Regions from separate parts of the Homo sapiens genome. Here region 1 is linked to region 2. The links are contacts of gene promoters, found by promoter capture Hi-C in blood cells and fetal thymus (Javierre and others, 2016). All regions are on one chromosome and are shown on one strand. The core of a region is centred on a gene start or on the middle of the fragment in contact, and the rest is flanking DNA. Distances in the headings are between cores, read along the strand shown. Region 1 has its middle 15 kb from the start of H2AC6. Region 2 holds the start of BTN1A1 (butyrophilin subfamily 1 member A1).

The links. The method cuts DNA at HindIII sites, captures the fragments that hold promoters and counts their contacts. A CHiCAGO score of 5 or more calls a contact.
Region 1: a fragment that was not itself captured here is called in contact with the fragment with the promoter of BTN1A1 in region 2 in 2 of 17 cell types (neutrophils and total CD4 T cells); the score reaches 6.7 in neutrophils.

Annotation. Positions count from the first base shown.
Region 1 is chr6:26,137,824-26,140,523 of GRCh38, reverse strand. No RefSeq gene overlaps it. Among named protein-coding and RNA genes, the nearest start is that of H2AC6, 15 kb to the right of the region's middle. The HindIII fragment of the contact is 2,247 bases long and covers 216-2,462 here.
Region 2 is chr6:26,499,010-26,501,709 of GRCh38, reverse strand. It overlaps BTN1A1 (butyrophilin subfamily 1 member A1), which reads right to left and starts at 1,407. Exons shown (of 8, transcript NM_001732.3): 1 at 1,352-1,407; 2 at 345-480; 3 at 1-120. The coding sequence starts at 423. The region is part of intron 1 of LOC107986583 (a long non-coding RNA gene); the gene reads left to right. RefSeq lists an enhancer at 1-118. The HindIII fragment of the contact is 5,298 bases long and covers 1-2,700 here.

The sequences.
Region 1 (2,700 bases), core at 90-2,589, 360 kb after region 2:
CTGAAGGTAGGAAGTCAAGTTGAACCAAAAGCAGGGGGCATCCCTGTTTGGAAAGCCTCTGCTTCTTGAAAGGTGGCTCAGCTGAGTTACAAACACGCATGCCTTCCACTGGGGCTGCTGCTTCTGAACCTGGAGCTGACTTGGTGGGAGGTGTGTGGGTACACTCCACCACCATTCAACATTCCATGTCTACCATGCTGACTCTTCTAAAAGCTTCATGTAGCCATGGGGGCAAACTGCAACCAGACTCAGTTAGTACTTAGGTGTAAGAACCCCAATTACTTCAATTTCTGCAGGTGGAAGCCAGCAAATCTCTGACAGAAATCCCAACATCCTGTCCTGCTTTCACTTTTCCACATTTGAAAATGGACAGAAGACAGTCTTTATATAATCTTGCACATATTTGTCAGGTTTTACAAGGAATATAGTGTTTTCTCATCTGCCATCTCATTTGATAGTTTTTCATAACTCTGGGAGGTACTATTACCTTATTTTACAGAAGAGAAATTCTGAGATGGCAGGTAACTAATCCCATCAGACATTTGGTGAGTGGCAGAGCTGAAAAAAAATCACAAGTATTTTGGCTTCAGATTCCTGTGTCTTTCCAGAACACCTGAGTGTCTATGCAGGTGTGTGTGTGTGTGTGTGTGTATAGACACACAAAACCCACTTTTTATAGATTTATTGTATAGGCATTTTTGTTTTTTTTGAGACAGGGTCTCGCTCTGTTGCCCAGAGCTGGAGCGCATTGCTGTGATCATGGCTCACTGCAGCCTTGACCTCCAGGGATCAAACAATCCTCCCACCCTAGCCCTGGAGTAGCTGGGACCAGAAGTGCAGGCCCACCAAGCAGTTAAATTTTACATATTTTGTAGAGATGGGGTTTCTCCATGTTGTCCAGGCTGATCTCGAAATCCTGGGTTCAAGCCATCTGCCCAACTTGGCTTCCCCAAATGCTAGGATTACTGGCCTAAGCCACAGTACCTGGGCAAAGTACTTCTTAAGAATAAATTGGGTGTTCCCTTCTTCCAACTCAGCCTATGATATTAAGGTGGCTCTCTTGCCAGCTCCTGAAAATTCGGGGCCAGAATTGAAATTTCCATACAGAGTAGGCCTCATGAATTCATCAGCCATTTCTCGGGTGACTACTATTTGCCAGGCAGCGTCAGGCACCATGCTGGGACCTGGGAATACAGCAGTGGACCATACAGGCCCTTAGCCACCAATACACACAGATTTGTAAAAGTAACAGTCAGTCTTAAAACCAGACCTTGACTGCAGATGAAAAAGTAGGCAAAAGAGGGCAGGCAGGTCAGGAGGATGTGTTTCCTAATCATTATGCAAGGAAGAAAGGAAATGGCAATTTAACCAGGGAGGTGTCCTAGGCAGAAAATTAATGACACATGCTTTCCTCTCCCTTTGCATTACCTTTTATTACCTCATGCCAGGCTGGAATTTGGGAAATCTGTTTCTATTACAATGTATACATTATACATTAAATAAGATTATGCACATTACAAATAAAATTATTTCAAAATTAAGAAATTACACATAGTTCAATTAAAATTAAATTTGAAAATAATTTTATTTGTGCTGTTCTTTAGAGCACCAACAATTCATACACATGATCTTCATTCTCATAGCCACTTAAGGTAAGTATTACCTCCATTTTAGAGGTGAAGAAATTAAGGTTCAAAATAACTAATTTGGTGATGGCCACATAGTTTTTAAGAACGTTGAGTCTAGCCCAAGAGTGACTGGAATTTTCAGTTCACTTACCACCATTCCAGCAGAATAGCAGAGCAATTTCAATTTTGCAGTAAATCAGGGTTAATCATCCCAGAACTGTTTGATAGCAAAAGACTAAAACAACTCAAGTGCCTACCAACAGTGGACAGGTTACATAAAATATAATGCATTTGCATAATGCAGTACATGCAACTGTGTACAGGAAGCTCTGTATGTTCTCATAGGGAAAGTTCTCCAAGATAGATTGTTATGAAAAGGGCAAGTGCAGAAAAGTCTACACAGTCTGCTACCTGACAAGAATGAAAAAAGTGAAGAAAACACGTATCATTCATTATTGACTGATATCAGCAGGAATGAATACTGGGCAGATACACAAGAAAAAGAAAAGTGACCACCTGGGTAAGTTGAGGGATGGATTCTTTATATATAATCTCTTTACTTCAAATAGTTTGAACCCTGTGAATGTAATACTTATTTAAAAAATTAAACACATTTTGTATTCAGAAGAACTTCCCCTCAATAATATTCTTTCTCTTCATTTTATCCTCCTTATCTCCCCACACATGATGTAGAATGTTTTTAATAAAACAATTTGCGGATGCAGAATCAATCAGTAATGTAGGAATCAGTAATGCCATCCATCCACTTATTCCTTAGAATTGGTAAGTTTGGCAGGCACTTAGGATCCTGGCATCTCTCTGAAATGAGAAGCTTTTGCAACCTAAGAGAGAGAGAAGAAAAAGTAAATATATCTGGAAACCACCTTCTTGGCCTTCCTTACACATACAGAAAAACTTACAGATCCTTTTCTTCATAATGAGTTAGTTCTTTACAGGTACCACAGCCCTTCTCAATTCCTCAAATAACTCCCTGTGGTGTAAAAGGACCTATCCAGACTAGACACTCCAGTTTTGCTCTTCAGATAGGGTTGCTAGATTTGGCACATTAAAA
Region 2 (2,700 bases), core at 158-2,657:
GGAACCAGCGTAGCTCCAAGTGCTCGGCGCTCGCGTTCGGAGACAGGCGACAGGGCAGCTCGGCGTCCTCACCCACAACGGCCAGGATGGGCTCCGGGGGTCCAATCACGTCAAAGGGAGCTGCCGAAAAACGAGCGGGATCAGACGGGATGTGGAGATGGGAACTACGGACAGACACCGACCAGATTCCCGCCAAAGCGCAGTGCCCCGCGCTCTCTTACTCCTTTGACAGCTGAGTTTGTCTGGATCCAGTGGAGGTCTCCAGGGAGAGCCAAGTGGGATTGTTTATTTTACATTTATTGATATATTTCAACTATGCAGCCCAGAGAGAGAGAGAGACTTACCTGAATCCAGTTTGGGCAGCTGGAGGAGAATGAGGGTGAGCAGACATCTGGGGAGACCGGAGCTTGGGAAAACTGCCATCTCCCACCCTTCTGGAGCAGCAAGATAACTGATGTGAGTCCCCTCAGGAGCTTCAGCCTAGGAGATGAATGGACAGGAGACAACTACCGGCTCTGTCAACCCTCCGCTTTCCAAAGTCCTCTCTACAGTTCTTTCCAGCTGCAAGTGTTCTGGTCATTTGCCCCTGAAACCTCCTCTCAGCCTCCATCCCCAGTATGGATTTTTAGTTTACACTGTGGTTATCACCTTCCCACCCACTACTCTAACTCTAAAACTTAGGAGAAGGGAACTGTGAGGCATAACACTCATTAGTTGGTTGCATATCGATGAACAAATCTTGGAATCACTGCACTAAAAAAAAAGTCTCCTTTTTATTTATTTATTTATTTATTTTTGAGACAGTCTTGCTCTGTTGCCCAGCTTGGAGTGCAGTGGCATGATCTCGGCTCAATGCAACCTCAGCCTCCTGGGTTCAAGCGATTGTTCTGCCTCAGCCTCCGGAGTAGCTGGGACTACAGGCGCGCACCACCATGCCCCGCTATTTTTTGTATTTTCAGTAGAGACGGAGTTTCACCACGTTGGCCAGGCTGGCCTCGAACTCCTGACCTCGTGATCCACCCGCCTTGGCCTCCCAAAGTGCTGGGATTACAGGCGTGAGCCACCGTGCCTGGCCAAAGTCTTTTTTCAAATACAAGAATTTGGTATTTGCTTTTGGCAATGATAATAAAGATAAGGGTATAAAGGCAGAAATGGAGTCCAAGGAAATGAATTGGAGAAGAGAGAAAAGATGGGAGGAGATGGAGCAAGAAGCAGGAGCTGAAGCAAGCAAAAGGGCTTGAAGAGTAGAGGGCCTAGGACCAAGGAGAAAGGAGCTGGAGGGAGAGAAGTATGCTATGCCCCTCTGGCTGCTCACTCCCTCAGGGAGCTGAGAGTAACCACACATACTGACCTGGGTGATCTTGGAGAAAAAGGCACAAGAGGCCACTGCTACCAAGTGAGAAAGCTGGCTGTGGCCCCCGGGGCAAAAGTTAAAAGCCAGCAGGAAAAGGAAGCGGGAGGTGCTCTCAGGAAAGCCTGCCTCCAGGTGGCCTGGTATATTCACTCTGAGGAAAAAAAAAAGGGAGATGAAAAGTTTTTCAGAGAGATGGAAAACTGGATTTGTGGTCTTCAGCTCAGAAATCAAGATATGCATTGATGAGCTGGACCAAATGAAAGGCAGAAAAGAGAAAAAGAGAAGAGAGGCAAGGAAACACACAAATGAGATGTGATGGCTTCAGCCAGTTATTTCCTCTTTCCAAGCCTCAGTTCTTTGATCTCTAAAATGGTAATAATATTGATCATACCTTTCTTGAAGAGGTGTTGGGAGGATTAAGTGAGATTAAGCAGGTAAAGTGCTTAGCACATAGTAGGAACTCAGCGGAGGATAAATTGTTATTCTATTATTATTTCTGCGGGTTGAAAAATGAAAGCCCAGAGGCCAAGGTAGCAGTAGCCTCTGTCTATAGCCATCTTCGTTATTGGAGCGTCCGTCCACCTTAGGTGCTGTGTCTGTTGGAACAACTCCATTAAAGGCCAGTCTTAAGGGTAGGCTGTGAATTCTGTTTACAGGGCCCAAAAGTTGCCTCCCTGACAATTATTTCTTTTGAAGCAACTCATCATGAGGCCTACAATTCCTTAATTTATACTAAACCTACCTCTCATTGTTATGAAAAAATTTAAAAATACAGAAAAATATTTTTATAAAATGGAGGTCACACTTAATCTACTAACTAATGATAGCCTCAATTCACATTTTGGCATAGTCCTTCCAAGATTTATTTTATGCTTATGTATATCATAAAAGCAATCAATTAGACTTTTTGTGTAACTCAAAATATTGTTAATAGTTGTATAATTGCCATGATTGTGGGACATTTGGGATTTTTTTCCTATTGTAAATAATACACTTTATATATAAGTCTTTATTTGCAAATTGGATAATGTCCTGATAAACTGTTTAATAAATTTCCAGAAATAGAGTCATCAGATCAAATGGTATAAGCATATTTCTTTTCTTTTCTTTTTTTTTTTGAGACGGAATCTCACTCTGTCGCCTAGGCTGGAGTGCAGTGGCGTAATCTTGGCTCACTGCAACCTCCGCCTCCAGGGTTCAAAGGATTTTCCTCTTGCCTCAGCCTCCTGAGTAGCTGAGATTACAGGCACGTGCCACCATGCCCAACTAATTTTTGTATTTTAGTGGAGACAGGGTTTCACCATGTTGGCCAGGCTGGTCTCGAACTCCTGAGCTTCAATGATCTG